Linked DNA regions of Homo sapiens: region 2 is linked to region 1. Evidence: promoter capture Hi-C in 16 types of primary human blood cells and fetal thymus (Javierre and others, 2016). All regions are on one chromosome and are shown on one strand. Each heading gives the region's core, a stretch centred on a gene start or on the middle of the fragment in contact. The rest is flanking DNA. Distances are from core to core; before and after follow the strand shown.

Region 1 (4,952 bases), core at 852-3,351:
AGCTGATAGATATTATTTATAGCCAAGGAATATGGCTTGGGATACAAATTGTCCTGGGGGAAAGTATGGCTAGAAAAATATGGCCAAGAAATGAACTCTGTGGCATACTAAGATTTAGTGGTGGGGAAGCCTGGAGACACAATGAAGCAGAATGAAATGCAGAATATGGTGACCTGGAAGCCAAGTGAAGAAGAAAGAATATTAGTGAAGAACATTAGTGAAGAAAAAAGAATATTGAGGAGGGAGTGATCAAATGTTACTGAGGGGTCAGGAAAGATGAGAACTGTGCACAGACACTGGATTTCACAAGACAGTCATTGGCAACATCAGGACCATGCAGGGGGTAATGGGGACAAAAAGCCTCAGATGAGAGGGGGTAGGAAGAAACAGGGAAAATGAAAATGGAGACTTAGATTAAATCTTTCAAAGAGGATTTTTGTTTGTTATAAAAAGAAGCAAAGTAGGGGAGCGGGACCTAGAATGGGATGTGTGGTCTAGGGGGGATTAAAGACAGAAGATTTAACAGCAGATATTTGTTAAATGAATACATTTTAAGAATAGCATAAGGAACAAATGACTCAACACAGATGCCCATGATTCAACAGTGTAAACATGGTTTATACTTCAAGTTCCATACGGTAAGGCGTACATGTCACATTTACTTTGCTTCAAATGTAGGTGTCAATATTCTATACCTGCTTATCTATTTTCTGATTTGAATGAGATATAAAGTGGAGTTGCTTAACTCCATTTATAACCATCCTACTACTTCAAAATATTAAAATGTAAGGATTGATGGGCTGATAGGTGCAGCAAACCACCATGGCACACGTTTATCTATGTAACAAACCTGCAAGTCCTGCACATGTATCCCAGAACATAAAATTAAATTAAACAATAAAAAAATAGAAATACAGATTCTGGAAATCAAGCTTACCAAATTAAACCTTCAGAGGTGGGGGGATGCATTTTAAACAAAAGTCCCAAATGCGTCTTACCATCAGGCTTGTTTGAAAAACACTAATCTAAGGAATACTAAACACTTGGAGAAGGACAAGTTCTTCTCCTGTGTAGACGTGCAATGTGGGTTCAGGGGATGACACTTCAACTCTATATAATGGTGTATTTTTACCTCCAGATCATATAGCCTTTCCCACCCTTGCTTTTCAAAATTAAAAGGATAAATTAAAAAATAATAATAAATATGAGAATATTTTAAAATACTTTCTTTAAGAAGTTTACTACCGTGGAAAGCTGGAGAGGTCCTAATACACTGAAAACTAGCTCACAGCTGCCAGTCAAATTATTTTTATCCAAATTAGCTTTGCACAAAAAGCCAAGTAGGAAAACCCATGCCAAAACCTCCAGCACTGGCTCTGTGTGCCTGGCAGGGGCTCATGCAGAGCCTTTAGAGCATTTAAGACTCTGGGCTATTTGCTTATGGTTCTGAGGTGTCTTTTCGAAAATGGGTTTTCTAGTCAAAATGAAACAAAAAGGCAGACAGCTGTGTGGATTTTCCCTTCAGAGTAAGCCAAGTGACGGAAAGGCCTGCCCGCCCCGCTGGGGACAACAGCGCCAGCACCCGCGCCGTCGGGTCGGGTAGGCTGGGGAGGTAGCGCAGGCGGCCTGGCCCCCAGACCACCCCGCGCCCCTGGCGGCCTGGCCCCAGCCCACCCCGCGCCCCCGGCGGCGGCCCCCGCCCTAGCGCCCGGTACTTGCCTGCAGGCGAGCGCCACCACAGTCAGCCCGCGGCTTTTCTGTCTTCCTTTCTGGCCCAGCGAGAGCGCCCAGGGGGTGGGCGTCTTGCCCCGGGCGTCGAGAGTTTGGGGCCGTCCCGTACGCGGCGCGCCGCAACCCAGTCCCCGCGACCACAGCAGCCTGCTCCCCACCGCGCTTGCAGAGCCCGGACGCGCGTGAGTCGGGGGCCCGCAGAGGCCTCACCCTTGGAGGTCGCCGCTTGTCAGGCCTGACTGCTGTTGGCGCCCACCCCGCCGCCCCCGAGGGGCCGCTCGAGGCCGGACTGCTGCTTTGCCGTGGCAGGCCCCACCCGGGACGTGGCGCTGCGGGCCGGGGCGGTCCAGCTGTGAGTCAGGGGTTAATGTGGCGGGATAACTCTCTGCAGAGGGAAGGAGCTCGCAAAGAAGGGTGGAGGAGGGGAAACCGCAATGGGGAACTGTCACCGAGGCTAGTGGACTCTCCCTGCGCTTTTTTTTTTTTTTTTTTTTTTGGCATGTACCCCAAAAGCCAGAGGTCGAGGCCCAGAAAAATCTGGAAAGGAATTCCACCGTGTTTGCTCCTTACAGACCAGACAAACCGTAGATCTTTCAGAGGTACAGCGACTCTCCTGGTTCCCTAAGATAGTCTCGACTTTTCCTTTCCCTTTGCGGCCCTCTCACTTGACTACTGCAGCCAACCATACCCCTGATTAGGGGGTGCAGCACATCAGCCTCTGCCCCCAAAAACTACCCTGCGAAAGATCCTTTTTCTCAGGTTCGTTCTCCACAACCGAACAGATTGGAACTCCACTGAATAAGAGAGAACAAAAAAGCAATTAGTTAAATGAAGCGTAAAGAAGCCTTATAAAGCCCCATTGCTGCCTCAGGCACCCAATCTAGTCATAACCTAAGAGGTCCAGTTCAGAAATCTCCCCTCCCCTTTTAATTCTCAGGCAATCCCTACTCCCTGCCAAAGGAGAACCCAGTTACTGAACATCGGATGAGACCATGGATAGTAAATTGGGAGTGAAGGTCCATACCTGGGTCTCAGAAGCACAGTACAGGTAAAGCTAAGAGTTATTTCCTCCTTCTCTTTCCCCATCCAACAACAGGATGCCTTACTGAAGGTAGGCACTTCAGGTAGTAATTACTTAGTGAAATGCCGCCAATGTAGTCAGAAATACCGTATTATGTACCGTGTCAACACAATTCATTATTCACGGAGTTGATTCTCCAACCACTGCACCTCCCAACAATTCTACCTGAACTCTTTGGGTAAGCAGTGGCCTCCTAAATCCAACTGATACTTTTGTTGCCCTCATTTTTCCTGGGAGTCTCTTTGGCGATTGACAAAGTCGACCATTGTTTCCCAACACTCTGTTTCCTTGATGTTGACAACCCCACTTTGCCTTTATGCTCATCCTGCTTGTTAAAATTCTTTCAGGCCTGTTGGGAGGCCGAGGCGGGTGAATCACGAGGTCAGGAGATCGAGACCATCCTGGCTAACACGGTGAAACCCCGTCTCTACTAAAAAATACAAAAAATTAGCCGGGAGTGGTGGCAGCTGCCTGTAGTCCCAGCTACTTGGGAGGGTGAGGCAGGAGAATGGCTTGAACCCGGGAGGCGGAGCTTGCAGTGAGCCGAGATCGCGCCACTGCACTCCAGCCTGGGCCACAGAGTGAGACTCCGTCTCAAAAAAAAAAAAAAAAAAAAAAAATTCTTCTTTCAGTTTCCTCTGCCTGTTCCTCTTTCTCTGGCAACCCTTCAAAATCAGAGCTTTTCACATTTTCCCACTGAAATACCACCAATGACAGATTCCATAAACACGTACTTCCCTATTCATCACTTAGGTTGCATACATAAAAGAGCCTGAAGTCACTAGTGTCATGGGCAAATTTACTTGAACTGTTCCATCTTCTTGTAAATTGCTCCAAATTTTGCATTGTTCTTCATAATACAGTCACATGTACTAAAAAAAATCTTAAATTGGTTACAAGTTTAATTGCTTAACATTTTCTCTCCAAATGTTCAAGAAAATGCATCAATCACTTACGCCACATATGTTTAGAATATATTCTATGTGCTAGACATTAGGGATATTGTGCGAACAGGAGACACAGTCCTAGTTCTCATGGAGATTTTATAGTCTAATCTGGGAGACAGACAGATATGTAAAGAAGTGAGACAATTTCAGATCCGTGCATTGCTAATGGGGACAGCGAATCTTCCTAGTGGGCAATTTCTAGCTACATACCTGGTTATTCACATTCAAGAAAGGAGGGGACGACATGACAAACTGATAAATATACTGACTTACAGGCAGTGTCTAATGGATTGTCCAGCTTTTAGGTTCTTGGAAAGAACAAAATGGAAAATTTGTAAAAGATCTGTCCGTGAGACTTACAGATAACCCTCTTGGAGTGGTGAGGGCATGTGAAGATATTCATATCCCCCATAAGTGCCTAACAGGATGCATCAGGTGGAGAAGATTTTCAATAATAAGCGGAACAAGATGAATTGTCTGGTAGATGTCAGTCTTTTTCTCCAGCCAACCCAGGGCTTGGTTAATGGGCCCATGTACCAAGTGGCTATCAAAGCAGTGACAGAGGTTCAATAGTATGGTCTTCTCCTTACCTACATTATTTGGCTACTATCATTGCCGAATGCCCAACCTGGCAACAACGTGGAGTGTGACTACATTTCCAAGGCTGGGTTCCTAATATGGCATTACTGTCAATGAGACTTGCTGGCAACCCGGTAACATGATGGTTACATTGGGCAATTTCCATAAGAAATAGGTAGCACTTTGTCTTCACAAAGATAATTCACATTCAAGGTATAAATCTGCATTCTCTGCCTGCAGTGTTTCCACTGGCACTAATATTCTTGACATTTCTGAAGGTTTTATCCATTGCATAGGAATCCCAAAAACATTTCTTCCAACCAGGTACACAGTTTATGGCAATGGAAGTGAATTCAATGGTTTTAACACATGCTTATCTCCTAAAGTAACTAGCTTGATAGAACAGCTGAGTGGCAAAATGAGAGCTCGGTTACAGAGATATCTGGGAGGCAACATCATGAAAAGGTAGGGTGGTGTCCTATAGAATGTGGTACATTAATTTAATAAGCAGTCAATATATGGAGCTGTCTCCCCACTATCAGGATGCACAGGTCTCAGAGCCAAAGGGTAGAAGGAGTGTTTCTGTTCAATAGTATACCTAAGAATCTACGTGA
Region 2 (5,026 bases), core at 1,830-4,329, 3.7 Mb after region 1:
TCCGCCGTCTCTGTTAGGCCATCTGGAAAACGCTTCTGAGCATATTGTTTATCTCAGTCCCTGAGTCTCCTGGAATAATTCCTTCTCAGCCTGCCTTCCTCCCTGCTTCACCAATGACTCTTTCCTCTTTGAAGAAGAGGAGAGAGACAAAGAGGAGTAAGTTGAATAGAGGAGGGGGAAGCTATAATTAGCGCCATGGTTTAGGCACGCCATTGAAAGAGTTAGCATGGGCAGGATTCAGCATACGAGGAGGGTACAGAGAGGACTGATGGGAAGAGAGGAAGGTTGAACAGAAAGAAAATGAAATTAATCTTGGCAGCCATGGCATTAAGCACTAGGGATTAGGGAACGTCCTGGGAATGCCAAAGCATAAAGGCCAAGGTGTTTTGTAGACATTTCCAGTTCTGTCTGAGGCTGTAGAATTAGATGAAATAAACAAATGAAAGTATCTTTTTATGCAGACACAAATGTCATCACTCTTTTGATGATTTTGTTGAATGTGCTTCTGATAAGGATGTGGGTAGCTATAAAGGAAATATTTTTCTTGGGGTATGTGATAAGCAGTTGATGAAACTAGGCCAGCGAGAGCATGTGTGTCTAGAGATTGTTCTGGGAGGGTAGGGGTTAGGCCTCATGGCCTCTCCTCTCAGCCCTGTCCTATTGTGCAGGGTCCTGCTGAATATGCTGCTTAACCTCTCTGCTCTGACACTCGCTTTGGAAACTGGGATTGCCACCCACTTTCGCAGGGTGTGGGGAGAGTGAAATGATGTAAGTGATAGTCTCTTGCTCTGAGATGCCGAGATAACGTGGAGTACACACACACGGAAGGGAAGGATCTCATTTTCTCATGGCCACCATCATGTGTTTGCAGAGAGATAGAGAAGAAGTACCAGATAAGGTGGCCGCAGACTTCCCTAATGACAGCTTATTTGGTATTACTGTGACACTCCAGGCTACCTCCATGACTGCCAATGCCAGTTGCACTCTCAGGGGCTGGGGGTTAGGGGTTAGGGTACAGATTAGCCCTGCGCTTCTGCTGCAGAGTTGTGCCCACCAAGAAAAAGGCCAAGAGCCAACTATATTCCTGAGCACAAATTGCTTTCACGAAGCTAGGCCTGGACAGATTCTTCAGCCACTAGGCCACCAGGCAGGGCTCCTAGGGCTGGAAGTCCTGGCTGCCTCCACTCTCCTCCTTGCCTTGAAGCATGGGTGATGCATCCACATTGGGCAATCATCACAATGTTGATCCCTGAACCTACCTAGAGTGTCTTAATTCACAAGTCCTAGGGAAGCATGGAAGTGCTGTGCATAGTCATATCTACAAAGAGATATTAGCTTTTTTTTTTTTTTTTAAACATAAGGCTATTCTGTAAGGTTTGACTGCTTCACAAATACTTACTTGAGAATCTCCCTGCTCTCTAGCCTATGTCTGTGATGACTCTTCTTTGTTCCCAAATCAAGTAGGATAAGCAGGATGCTAACTGCTGGGACTGGTTTAAACAGCACACTTTGAATAGATCCGGGGATATCTTGGGCATTCTAGTCTCAAGTGAGAGAAAAGGAGTGTCTTAGGGAAATGTCTGTGCAGATGCTTTGCTTTTTGTTCTCCTGTTTTTGGAGAGCTCTCTCCAAAACCAGGAGTTTCCTGCTGGGTGTAGAGGTGCCCACTGGATACATGAGGCTACCATGTCCTCTGCCCTTGCCTGGTGTTGGGACCTTGCTGGTGCCTCCCCGACTGGGCCTGGAGCATGTGTAAGGGCCCTGATGCCATGAAGGCAGTTGTTTTCACATAGGACTGCAGGATTCTTCCTCCAGCCTTGTCTTCCTGCAGCCTCACTGCACTGCCCCATCCTCCCCTAGCAGAACTGGAAAGAGTGGTTCCTAGTGACCACCTAGCCATGCAGCCACCACTGAGGTCACATTTTAGGGAAATGTGAGAGGCCTGTTCCACTGTTTAGATGCAGTATTTCTGCTCTTTGTAGCTTACCCTTGGAATTGCCAGTGAGTCACAGCCTGCGAAGTCCTTGTGATTTAGGGTCCTGCACTTCCAGGAAGAGCTTTCTCTTGACATCTTCTTTGACCCTTAGTCCCTGATGTTTTCATGGCATGAAGGGCCAGTCAGAATTTGGGGAGATAACACAAAAGAACACAAAAATATGGTTTCTAAGGTATAAGTGTCATATCGCTATGAGTTAGTCACATGATAATGTAGGCCAAAGAAAATAAGAAATACAGAGATATGTTTGTAAATTGATGTTGATTTGGTATCTCTTTTGGCCTCCTTCCCAAATTAGTATTGGGCATTTGATTTTAATTTAGGTCAATAATAATGCTCATTACTGCTTGAGAACTCTATGTGCATCAGGCAATATGTTATTTGCTTCACGTGGTTCTCGTTAAATCTTAATAGCAATTCTGTGACATTGATGATGTTATTCTCATCTTACGGAAGTGCAAAATTATTCAGGGGTGTTAAATAACTTGCACGTATACACAACCAGAAGGTGGCATAAATAGACTCTGAACCAGACCTTGGAGAGTTTGTCCATCACCTTCCACTTTTTTTGCTAGGTGCTTGGTAGTTTCAAGGTAGAGTGTTATTGCTACAGAGTATAGAAATAAAATCAAGAAGCTTACCATGTAGGGAGAGTAAGATAGATAAACAACTGAAGATAATATAAGGACAGCTGTGATAGATACCAAAAAGTGTTACCAAGAAAGGTCAACCAAGGTGCAGTAGGGGCTAAAGGAAGAGATTGAGATCATACATACCTAATAGGGATCACCAAAGAAAAGCCTTCTTAGAAGTGGTACACTTGAATCTTACTTGGGGGAGTGGATAAGGAAAGATTTGTGGGTGGCAATGACTGCCAAATGCCCACGTAAATAAACAGGCTCCTAAAGAAACTATTAGATTGTATAAATGCATGTATGTGTATGTGTACATGTGTGTATTGTGTATGCCTGGATACACTCACACTTACATTCATTATGAAAACCTTATATACTCTTCCAAAGCAAAAGGCTGATGATTTTAAGTAGCAACATTGTCCAAACTCTATTCTTAGTTCTCCTGAGAACAGAAACACCTCTGAGCAATACGTATTATTAATAGACGTTCATGTTTATACAGGTAGGAATGAGGTGTTTTTTTTATTTTCTTTTTTTCAGGCATCTGTGAATGGGGCCTCTCCCTTTTTTTTAGTTTTTTTTTTTTTCTAAGTATCTGTTTCTATTTTCTAGCATGTTGAAACGTTAGACTTCCTGTTTCTGCTTGATTTTGAATATACTCCTGTTTGCTTGTCACAGGTAATCTTGCATTTCTATGTAGTTGTAGTTTACAGGGAGCAAGTGCAGGCAGCAACCAGTCCATCCCTGTTGTGAATGTGGAGACCTCTCTGGACTCACAATTAAAGGCTACCTAATGCATTCCACTACAAGTGACGAAACCTAGCTCCCAGAATAACAAGCAAGACAACTTTCAAAGTGACTGTAGTTGACCAGTGCCTTCTGTGCATTTATGTGGTAAGCTTATGGTAGATTTTTCAAAAGAATAGTATAAATTATTTTGAATTATTCTTGAGAAGGACTGAGTCTCCCCGAGGGTGATGCAGGTTCCATAGTGTACACGTCAACAGGGTGGTTGCATGCATTCCTCAAGTCTGTATGACTCTACCAAGATACTGTGAAGTTGTCCTTCTGATTGCACACGGGGAGAAAATGCTGAAACTAGGTGAGTTAAAACGGCCTTCAGAATATGTTTAGATATAATGTCTTTGTTGAAATCTGGTAAAATGTTCAGATGACTAACATAGTATTGCTGTCTTCAAGGAAATAATGTTTGGTCGTGGCTTTAGAGCTACTGTGTTCAACAAATCACTGTTTTGTTTTGTTTTGCTATGGCTCTGGGTGTGGGGAACCAGTGTTAAGCAGGGAGAGGTATGAGTATTGTGGGTGGAAAAATGACATTTAAAGTTTGCATGTAGACAGTTTCATTTGTAAACAGATAAAGATTTGAAATGTTTCAGAGATGGGACTCTGAAAAGATTGGATGGCTTTTTCACTCAGAGTTTCTCTTTTACATTTTCCATGCGTTTATTAACTGTAGGACACCTCTGGTTCCCAGTGGTCTGGTAGCAGTGGTAACACCGTGGGGCAACCCGTAAACACAAGGCTGTTTATTTCTATTCTCTTATTGGATAATTGTTTGAATATTGCTGTTGCCATTTTCTCTAACAACCAAAAAAAAAAAAAAACGGTTTACCTTACATATAAAGCATTTTGTACTTTTAAAATAACACCTTAGGTTTGTTTTTAGCCATACTTAATGCTCCCACAAGTAGACTTAATTTTATTTTTAAAGTAAATTGAAAAAGTTATCAAGGATTAGAATAGAGTGTTTTAAATAGCCCTTAAAGTTATATTGGTATTTATACACTTTTGTTCAAGTTGATATATAATATTTGCTTAGGTTTACTTAAAATTGTTCTGCTCAACAGATTTTTTGGAGCTTAAATTTAATACTAGGGAAAAACTAGAATTTGGAAGACATAGGTGGGTGTTGGTATAGCTAATCTTTTGGTCCATTATTGAACCCTTGGCAGCCAATAAATATTATTTCATAGAGTCCTGACTTCTCTTGTATGGAATGTGGTCACCTGCATATCATTTATAGTAAATGTACATTCGTCTACTAGATGCCTAGAGCTGTGCATGTGATCCTTTCGTGTGTGTGTGTGTGTGTGTGTGTGTGTGTGTGTGTATACCTGGGAGTCTGAGGCAGGAGAATTGCTTGAACCTGGGAGGTGGAGATTTCAGTGAGCCGAGAATCGCACCACTGCACTCCAGCCTGGTGACAGAGTGAGACTCCGTCTCAAAAAAAATGGTTATGTGTCTGTGACTGTATGTCATTGCATATATAGAGTTGAGATCAGAGCCAGCTTTGCTTGGGAGGATTTTGTGGAAGAAGTGAGTTTTGGGTAGAGTTCCAAAGGGAGGGTAGGTAGCGTACTTTGGCAGAAAGACG

The links. Contacts are between HindIII fragments. The CHiCAGO score rates a contact against its expected background, and 5 or more counts as called.
Region 2: a fragment that was not itself captured here is called in contact with the fragment with the promoter of TICAM2 in region 1 in 1 of 17 cell types (M2 macrophages); the score reaches 5.3 in M2 macrophages.

What each region holds. Positions count from the first base shown.
Region 1 is chr5:115,600,378-115,605,329 of GRCh38, forward strand. TICAM2 (TIR domain containing adaptor molecule 2) reads right to left here and starts at 2,102. Exons shown (of 2, transcript NM_021649.7): 1 at 1,720-2,102. The region is part of intron 3 of TMED7-TICAM2 (TMED7-TICAM2 readthrough); the gene reads right to left. TICAM2-AS1 (TICAM2 antisense RNA 1) reads left to right here and starts at 1,778. Exons shown (of 3, transcript NR_109875.1): 1 at 1,778-2,083; 2 at 2,669-2,779. RefSeq lists enhancers at 1,424-1,503, 1,452-1,974 and a silencer at 1,594-2,093. The HindIII fragment of the contact is 4,479 bases long and covers 931-4,952 here.
Region 2 is chr5:119,329,899-119,334,924 of GRCh38, forward strand. It overlaps a transcript of TNFAIP8 not described here. Among named protein-coding and RNA genes, the nearest start is that of TNFAIP8, 24 kb to the right of the region's middle. RefSeq lists enhancers at 2,842-2,891, 3,502-3,551, 4,929-4,988. The HindIII fragment of the contact is 898 bases long and covers 2,631-3,528 here.